Linked DNA regions of Homo sapiens: region 2 is linked to region 1. The links are contacts of gene promoters, found by promoter capture Hi-C in blood cells and fetal thymus (Javierre and others, 2016). All regions are on one chromosome and are shown on one strand. Each heading gives the region's core, a stretch centred on a gene start or on the middle of the fragment in contact. The rest is flanking DNA. Distances are from core to core; before and after follow the strand shown. Region 1 holds the start of FLT1 (fms related receptor tyrosine kinase 1). Region 2 has its middle 24 kb from the start of MTUS2.

Region 1 (4,519 bases), core at 400-2,899:
ATGCCTGGCCCCTGTTGAATGCTGCAGAAGGACAATGCTGACAGCTTCTCCTTGAAAGAGGGTGTGGGAGTGACAAGCAGCTCTCAGGTGAGACCAACAGACACTGTGGCTCCGCACGTATGTCCCAGGCTGTGTTCTGGGCTGGGGGACCAGCAAGGAGAAGGATCAGCTGTCCGCTTCCAGCTGTTCTGAGGGATGATGCTGTGGGTTTTAGAGGAGGCAGGGGTGCGGGAGGCAGAGAAAGGCGCCAGGAAGAGTGGTGAGGAGAACTGGAAAAACAGAAAGCGCTGGTGAAGCCAGCAGGCAAGCAATGACTCCGGCAGTCTTCCTTGCCTCTGAAGCAGAAGGGATCCAGGGACAGTTAGTGGCTCAGGTCCTGCGGCTCCAGGTGCCCAGACGTGCATTTCCTGTGTGGAGTGGCCGGGGCCTCTCCTTGGTGTGCAGCCCAGAAATGTGGCAACTTTGGGTTACCCAACCTTCCTAGGCGGGGAGGTAGTCCAGTCCTTCAGGAAGAGTCTCTGGCTCCGTTCAAGAGCCATCACAGTCCCTTGTATTACATCCCTCTGACGGGTTCCAATAGGACTATTTTTCAAATCTGCGGTATTTACAGAGACAAGACTGGGCTGCTCCGTGCAGCCAGGACGACTTCAGCCTTTGAGGTAATGGAGACATAATTGAGGAACAACGTGGAATTAGTGTCATAGCAAATGATCTAGGGCCTCAAGTTAATTTCAGCCGGTTGTGGTCAGAGTCACTCATCTTGAGTAGCAAGCTGCCACCAGAAAGATTTCTTTTTCGAGCATTTAGGGAATAAAGTTCAAGTGCCCTGCGCTTCCAAGTTGCAGGAGCAGTTTCACGCCTCAGCTTTTTAAAGGTATCATAATGTTATTCCTTGTTTTGCTTCTAGGAAGCAGAAGACTGAGGAAATGACTTGGGCGGGTGCATCAATGCGGCCGAAAAAGACACGGACACGCTCCCCTGGGACCTGAGCTGGTTCGCAGTCTTCCCAAAGGTGCCAAGCAAGCGTCAGTTCCCCTCAGGCGCTCCAGGTTCAGTGCCTTGTGCCGAGGGTCTCCGGTGCCTTCCTAGACTTCTCGGGACAGTCTGAAGGGGTCAGGAGCGGCGGGACAGCGCGGGAAGAGCAGGCAAGGGGAGACAGCCGGACTGCGCCTCAGTCCTCCGTGCCAAGAACACCGTCGCGGAGGCGCGGCCAGCTTCCCTTGGATCGGACTTTCCGCCCCTAGGGCCAGGCGGCGGAGCTTCAGCCTTGTCCCTTCCCCAGTTTCGGGCGGCCCCCAGAGCTGAGTAAGCCGGGTGGAGGGAGTCTGCAAGGATTTCCTGAGCGCGATGGGCAGGAGGAGGGGCAAGGGCAAGAGGGCGCGGAGCAAAGACCCTGAACCTGCCGGGGCCGCGCTCCCGGGCCCGCGTCGCCAGCACCTCCCCACGCGCGCTCGGCCCCGGGCCACCCGCCCTCGTCGGCCCCCGCCCCTCTCCGTAGCCGCAGGGAAGCGAGCCTGGGAGGAAGAAGAGGGTAGGTGGGGAGGCGGATGAGGGGTGGGGGACCCCTTGACGTCACCAGAAGGAGGTGCCGGGGTAGGAAGTGGGCTGGGGAAAGGTTATAAATCGCCCCCGCCCTCGGCTGCTCTTCATCGAGGTCCGCGGGAGGCTCGGAGCGCGCCAGGCGGACACTCCTCTCGGCTCCTCCCCGGCAGCGGCGGCGGCTCGGAGCGGGCTCCGGGGCTCGGGTGCAGCGGCCAGCGGGCGCCTGGCGGCGAGGATTACCCGGGGAAGTGGTTGTCTCCTGGCTGGAGCCGCGAGACGGGCGCTCAGGGCGCGGGGCCGGCGGCGGCGAACGAGAGGACGGACTCTGGCGGCCGGGTCGTTGGCCGCGGGGAGCGCGGGCACCGGGCGAGCAGGCCGCGTCGCGCTCACCATGGTCAGCTACTGGGACACCGGGGTCCTGCTGTGCGCGCTGCTCAGCTGTCTGCTTCTCACAGGTGAGGCGCGGCTGGGGGCCGGGGCCTGAGGCGGGCTGCGATGGGGCGGCCGGAGGGCAGAGCCTCCGAGGCCAGGGCGGGGTGCACGCGGGGAGACGAGGCTGTAGCCCGGAGAAGCTGGCTACGGCGAGAACCTGGGACACTAGTTGCAGCGGGCACGCTTGGGGCCGCTGCGCCCTTTCTCCGAGGGAGCGCCTCGAGGAGTGGCTGGCCTGGACCCGCGAGCATCAGCGCTCAGACCGGGTCCGCGCTGGGGCTGTCCGTTTGCGACAGGATCGCTGATCCCTTATCCAGCTGTCGGGTTGGGGTCTCACTGCCGAGGCCCTGGGCACTAGGAGCAGCACGCACCGGGACCTGCCTGGCACCCAGAGCCCATTCCCAGAGGACCTGGGGCAGGTACGCAGGGTCCCCCGGAGCCGGGAGCAGAGGCTCCTGAAAGCCTGCCAGGCTGCCCGGGGCTGGGCTGAGGCCGGGACTTTGGTGATATTGGGCACTGGCCGCGACCTCGCGTCACGAGAGTGTAGGAGGGGAGCCGATTTGGAGGGGACTCGTGCCTGCGGGGGAGCAGGAGGATCTCAGGAGAGGGCCAGCGCCGGCATCCCATGACCCGCTTGAGTCCCCAAGCCGGACTGTCCCGGGGAACGCTCGGCGAGCGCCCGCTCCTCCCCGCCGCTCTCGGACCGCGGGGCCCCAGTGCGCTGCGCTCAGCCACCCGGGTGGGGCCTCTGCCGGGAGCAGGCGTGGTGCGCGGTCCAGTCCGTGTCGCGGACATCAGTGACCCTGACCCACAAGGGCAGCCCAGGGCCCAAATACCGTTAACTTACTGACTTACAAGCCTAGCCTTTAAAATCCGAGCGAAGAGAGGGCGGGCGATTTTGACCAAACGATGTGGTTTGAGGAATCGATGAGGTCCGCCCGCCACCTAAGTCAGCCTTCGCTGGGCGTTTGGGAGACGGGCGGTGGAACAGTCAGGGGCCGGGGGTTTTACCAGCAGTTAGACCGCCGCCATTGAGGGGTCAAAGCCCCGAGGAACTTGAGGGTTCGGACTCGCAGTCTCTGCTCAGTGGGGCTGAGTGGCGGAGATTTGTGCCTCGTTCCCCTGGGCGCAGAGAGCCAGATTTCGGAGCGCCTTTCTTTTAAGCATCGTGGAGAAAAGGTAAAATATGAAATAAAATATAGTAATATAAAATAAGTCATTGCAATGATTCCCGGGAAGAAAAGTCAATAGGATGGAGCGTAGTACAACAACAACAACAACAAAAAGCTTGTTAAACCCAAAAAGCAGTAATAATTAAATATTCTTTCTCAGTGGGAAGACTAACTAGACCGTCAGTTTCCAAGTAACAAGTAATAGTTCCAATTAGATTGGAGAAACTACTAAACCCGGAGACAGGGCGAAGTGGTAACTTCTGAGAACTCACTGTAGGTTGGGAAAGGTGCTAACATAACTATATTAAATAAAATGTTGTATTTTCTATTTCACAAATACATTTTTTGTTTTGAAAAGTCACTTGTATTAAAATATAATTGCTTAGAGAATTTAAATACCTCACTCGACTATTATGTAAAGATAAATCTAGCTAAATTACATGAATCTAAAATTACGGAGGGAAAAGTACGTGATTTATTAGATTTTCTGCTTCACATAATTATATCTTTATTTTGAAAACATGCTGACTTTAGTGAAGCATCGTTTTCTTTGTAATTGGAAGCATCTTAGATCAGTGGAAACTTTACAGAAATGTGAGTGGGATCCTCTTGTGATTTTTCTTAGATTATAATTTACTTAAATGGGGCAGCAGTTTTGCAACTCTGAATTTCTTTTTTTTTTTTATTTGCACTTTTTTGGGAAGAAAGGACTAACATTGGCAAGCTGAGAACCTCTTTACCTAACAGTTAACAGAACACTCTGTTAGTTCATGTTAGCTCAGTCGGCATCATGGGTGCTTTTGAAAACTCATAGTTTCTCTGTCTGGTTAACAAGCATCTCACAGTAAAACAATCAGCTACCGCCTACTTTACAAACCGCATCAGGGCTTTCATGCTCAACTGAGAGGCTGCATATCCGGGAAGCAATGTCTAGTAAGAAGCCACGGTTCCCCACTGCAGAGTTCTCTTGCGTCATTATGAACCTGGGTCTGCCTTCCTTCAGGTACTATGTAATCTTTGAATACTTATCAGCTATTAATATTCTGTGTGTGTGCATGCCTGGTGTGCACATGCATTGAGAGGTAAAATAACCAGAGGCTCAGTATTACAAAAAGATAATGCCTTTCCCCTCTAAAGCGCTTATTTACCTCTTCCAGACATTCTGGGAAATAAAAAGATGCCAATAATTCAGATACTTTCAAGTCCTCTCTATTGCTCTTTCTCTATAAAGGATACCAGTCCTCTTTCTCCAGCTCTGAGTCTCATTTCTTACTTTTAAGGTATCACAACCTGGATGAAAGCTACAGACCTTTTTCTTTGCCCTCATTTTTCTTGAGTTCTTGAACAGCTAACATTTACAATTTACTATAACT
Region 2 (5,243 bases), core at 304-2,803, 300 kb before region 1:
CTTTTGTTTACATGTTTGTTCGTCCCCTTTGGCTGACCTCATGCCTTATTTATTTCCAGTTGTCTAATACCTATCTTGGTCCTTATCACATAGGAGATGCTCAATAAATATTGGCTGATTGATCAACTCATTGGATGGTTACACTGGTTGATGTTAAAGTGGGTGGCCTATTTGCTTAGCTTCTGTTCTCCAGAACAGTTAGACCAAGATCAATATATAATCCACTTCAACTGTTGTTGACATGGTCATTCTTTTTTTTTTTTTTTTTTTTCTGAGAGAGAGTCTTGCTCTGTAGCCCAGGCTGAAGTGCAGTGGTGTGATCTTGGCTCACTGCAACCTCCACCTCCCAGGTTCAAGTGATTCTCCTTCCTTAGCCTCCCGAGTAGCTGGAATTACAGGCACCCACCACCACACTTGGCTGACTTTTGTATTTTTGGTAGAGACAGGGTTTCGCCCTGTTGCCCAGGCTGGTCTTGAACTCCTGGGCTCAAGCAATCCGCCTGCCTTGGCCTCCCAAAGTGCTGGGATTACAGGCGTGAGTCACCACTCCTGGCCAAAATGGTCATTCTTTTATATCTCTCAATCTAGATAATTTTTGGAGGACCCAAACACCACATAGGAGATAAGAAAGGGGGAATTTTAAAGGATCATCCCCACTTCCTAAAGCTAAGTTATTCTAGCAATTTAATAAATTGGATTAGGGTAGGAAACATGGAGTCCAAGTCCAGCTCTTCCCCTGAACACCTGCTTAGGGCTTTAGTTCTCTACAAAACTAACCAGGGTTAGAATCATTCATTAGGCAACCACATTGCACAGTGGAAAAACAGGGGTTTTTGGAGTCAGGTGGATCTGGCATTGAGGGCAAAATATCAGTTTCTAGCTTAACAACCTAGGGCACATTATTTAAATTCACTGATTGTCAGTTTTCTACGGGAAATACAATATCTGCCTTGCAATGTTGCTAAATGAGACAAAATGTATGAAGCGCATGCCACTGTGCTTAGCACACAGTAGAGTCTAGACAGGGACTTCCGTGGTGTAAATCACACTCCTGTGCTTATACACAGAGGAAGCTCATCTTTCATCAGTTTTTTTTAGGCAGGGTCTCCCTGTGTTGCCCAGGCTGCAGTGCAGTGGCACAATCACAGCTCACTGCAGCCTTAATCTCAGTGGGCTCAGGTGATCCTCCCACTCACCCTCCTGAGTAGTTGGGACTACAGGCACACACTACCATGCCCAGCTAATTTTTGTATTTTTTTGTAGAGATGGAGTTTCACCATGTTTCCCAGGCTGGTCTCAAACTCCAGAGGTTCAAGTCATCCACTTGCCTCAGCCTCCCAAAATGCTGGGATCACAGGCATGAGCCACTGCCTGGCCATCTTTCAGTTTTTACTTATGCTTTACAATTTCTCTCTCTCTCTCTCTCTCTCTCTCTCTCACACACACACACACACACACACACACACACACACACAGAGTGAAATAGGGAAAAGACAGCAAAAGTCCACCAGGTTTAACAGAGTATTTTCCTATGGTTTTGGTACCATCATTGCCAGAAAAGAAAGGTTATCATAGAGTCCGTGATTTAATGGTTAAATATAAAATTCTTTATGCCTTAAAATCATTAAAGTACTATTTCTCAGGTAATTCTCCCTATGTCCAATAAAATTAAAAGTCACCACATGTTGAGAACTTGGAAATGGGAGTGATTACATTTTTTTTTTTTTTTTTTTTGAGACAGAGTCTCACTCTGTCGACAAGGCTGGAGTGCAGTGGTGCTGTCTTGGCTCACTGCAAGCTCCGCCTCCCGGGCTCATGCCATTCTCCTGCCTCAGCCTCCCGAGTAGCTGGGACTACAGGCGCCCACCACCACGCCTGGCTAATTTTTTTGTATTTTTAGTAGAGACGGTGTTTCACCGTGTTAGCCAGGATGGTCTCGATCTCCTGACCTCGTGATCCGCCCGCCTCAGCCTCCCAAAGTGTTGGGATTACAGGCGTGAGCCACCGCACCTGGCCTGATTACATTATTTAAGCCCTGAACAAAAGTACCATTAAGGTGTAGGCCCATTCCAATAACTTTTAAAGATTATGAAGAATACTTCACACACAGTAAGCAAGGTTATATGATGGCACAATTCAACAGTGGAACCAACTGCTCAACATGTTGTGTTTCTGCTGTACTTTACATGGTAGATCTGGATACTAAAGTTTGTGACTGCTTGGTTTTAAGCAAAAGTCACCTGCTTACAAGGTAATTCACTTTAGAACTGGCTATTCAAATCTGCAGCAGCCTTCAAAAGTGCAGATGGAGAAAACTGATGCTCAAACCATTGTCTCAAATTGGGTTTTGAAACTGGAATAGGGAGCATTTTCTTCACAGATTTTGAGGTAGAGCTAATTCCTGGTTTGCCCAGCAGAGGGCAACAGCCCCCACGGGAAAGTGCAAGAGTGTTCACCCGCTTTAAAAGCCATCTTCCCAGCTACTCGGGAGGCTGAGGCAGGAGAATGGCGTGAACCCGGGAGGCGGAGCTTGCAGTGAGCCGAGATCGCGCCACTGCGCTCTAGCCTGGGCGACAGAGGGAGACTCCGTCTCAAAAAAAAAAAAAAAAAAAGCCAACTTCACCGGAGGTCCACGGAGAGAAAGCGGCGGCCAAGGGGTGGGTGACATCATTCCTGGTCAAGAAGATCACCCAGGGACAAGCATAAAATGGAAATGCGGGTCCCTTGTTAAAAAAGAGAAAAAAAGCGTTTCTTCTGCAGTCTCTCTCAGTTGACCTGTCCAGATGTTTTGTTTGCTATTTAATGTCACACTCCCTCACGCACAGAGATGCTGGCAGGCTGGGGACAGACCCTTAGGGCACCAAGGGCCCGCCCTGTGGTTAGGCGTGCAGAGGGTCATGCCTGGCCCTGCCCCCACCCTGCCCTGCCCGTCTGGTGGAGGGCGGCAGGGGCACCGTGTCGGGCCTCTCAGGATGAAGGGCAGCAGCAGTTCTGAGCAGGAGCAGGAGCAGGAACAGGTGACCCAGACCCAAGTCCGCGAGGTGGGGAGGAGGCAGGAGGCAGGACCGCACAGGAGCCGAGCCTCCAGGCCCTGGGGAACAAGCCCCATTGTCCCGGACTTCACTTACAGAACAAAAGGAAGGATAACTGTGTTGAGAATTTCAAGATGGTGTCCATGGAGCCTTGAAGCCCAAGTTGGGGGGCCCCTAAGAGCGTGGGGCCCTGCCGGCGTACCTCGCCACACACCTGTCCAGAGGGTTGGTTACTCTCTGAGCCTAACCAACGCCAACCAGCTGGTACACCTAAGCCCAGACTGTGCTGTCACCTGCCTGCTTTCTAGTTCCTGGAAGAGAAGGGGTTGTTACACCCCGGGATGCTCACTACCATCAGGAACAGAATCTCCTCTCTGCCTGCTGGCTCTGGCTATATTGATCTCCACCACGTTCCTGGAACACCCAAGCTTGCTCTCCCATAGGGCCCTTAACTGTGTGCTTCCCTGGACTGCTCCTTCCCAGAGACTATGAGGACCCCTCCTTCCCTTCATTCAGATCAGGGACGCTTTCTCCAGCTAAAATAGCAACCCCCTCCAGGCACATCTCACCCTTTAACCAGCTTTATTTTTCCTCATATCGCATATCATCCGTTCCTGATGTCTTGTGTATTTATTTGATTGCTTTTGGTCTATCTGCTCTGACTGGACAGTCTGGCAAGGCACCTTAGCTCATGCCTGTAATCCCAGCATTTTGGGAGGCCAAGGCAAGAGGATCGCTTGAGGCCAGGAGTTCCAGATCAGCCTGGTCAACATAGCAAGATCTTGCCTCTACAAAAATACTACTACTACTAATAATAGACTGTCCATGGGAGCAGGATTTGTGGGGGAGTTTTTTTGTTCATGACTATCTGCAGCTCCTAGAACCACTGCTAGTATGTGTAAACACTCAAATGTTGAAGTGAGAATAAATGTCTTGATAACCTACTGGCTGATGGCAAGGTGCCTACTAATGAGACCAAGGAAGAACCAGGACAGGGTTGCTACCAAGCAGGACTTAAGTAAGTAAGTCACTGAGTGGCTGGTACAGGAAAGAACTCTTTACTTGTTTGCAGATTTGCCCTAATAAAGAATGCCAGCTTCACATAGTATCTTTATATTTCCCATCTCCTAAGCTGTGATATTTTTATAACACCCTTAGAGAGTGACTTAATCATGCCATTTACAGGTAAAATACAGAAAGCCCAGAGAAGTAAAGATCTTACAGAACGTCACACAGCTCATAGTGGCAGAGCCAAAACTACAAGACCCAAGGCTCTTTTGAGTTTTATCCTGTGCTGTTTTCAGAGATCATTCTTTTCTGAACATGTGGTCTGCAACCTGAGCTTGTAGTTTTATATTCAAGGTCAGGAGGCAGCAGAAGAGACCTACTGTCTCTAGCAACTCTACTTAGTGGCCCAAGACCTTGGGAGTTTACTCAGCTTGTTTCCAGAGATCAGTCCGCTTTGCTTTGGTTTCAGTTCAGGGTTAGCATATCAATAATTCTTTATTAATAAGGCCAAGCATATAATGTTTCTTAGCAGTTGCATATCGAATATGGAGAGAAAACATAGGGAGTGTACTATGTATTGTGAAACATTGCACCAGACAAGCATATTCTAAGCCATGTGATTCTAAGCATTTGCTTCCTAAATGATCGTTGATCTCTGGCCGCTGAAGAGTTCATTGTCTATCTGTGAACAAGTCACTTGTTCCAGCCCATTACCGCAGCTAATTAGCCACAACTACATTTCACGTAAGGGTTGCCTTTGTGTTGAACTTTAATATTCAGCAGGAGAATAGACACTGCATCCCTTTAATTGTGTTTTCCTAATTAAATTCCAAATTCTAATTGTTTCTTCCCCTTGAAATGAAGATCTTAGATTTTATCGTCAAGTTCCTATGCTCAAGTTTTATTTTAACTGTTTTTAAAACCTTGCCACAACTAAGTAACCAAGTAGACTTTGCACCACAGATAACTTTTGGATACATGATTATCTAATAGTAGATGTATAATGATTACAAAAGGGACAAGAATAATACACTTCAGGGTCACTAGACAAAATGAAATGTATCCTCTCCTTGTCATGAACCACTGTTTCTCATTTCCTAATCTCTAAAATGGAAGAAATTCCATCTGACTTTTATTGACTTAAAAGGAGATTAAGAAGATTAATTTAACACTGTTAGAAAAAACAAAAATATTATAGTATAC

Evidence for each region. Contacts are between HindIII fragments. The CHiCAGO score rates a contact against its expected background, and 5 or more counts as called.
Region 2: a fragment that was not itself captured here is called in contact with the fragment with the promoter of FLT1 in region 1 in 1 of 17 cell types (M2 macrophages); the score reaches 5.6 in M2 macrophages.

What each region holds. Positions count from the first base shown.
Region 1 is chr13:28,492,258-28,496,776 of GRCh38, reverse strand. It overlaps FLT1 (fms related receptor tyrosine kinase 1), which reads left to right and starts at 1,649. Exons shown (of 30, transcript NM_002019.4): 1 at 1,649-1,997. The coding sequence starts at 1,934. RefSeq lists silencers at 1,744-1,793, 1,914-2,033, 2,114-2,163. The HindIII fragment of the contact is 4,512 bases long and covers 1-3,263 here.
Region 2 is chr13:28,794,014-28,799,256 of GRCh38, reverse strand. No RefSeq gene overlaps it. Among named protein-coding and RNA genes, the nearest start is that of MTUS2, 24 kb to the left of the region's middle. The HindIII fragment of the contact is 3,819 bases long and covers 1-3,462 here.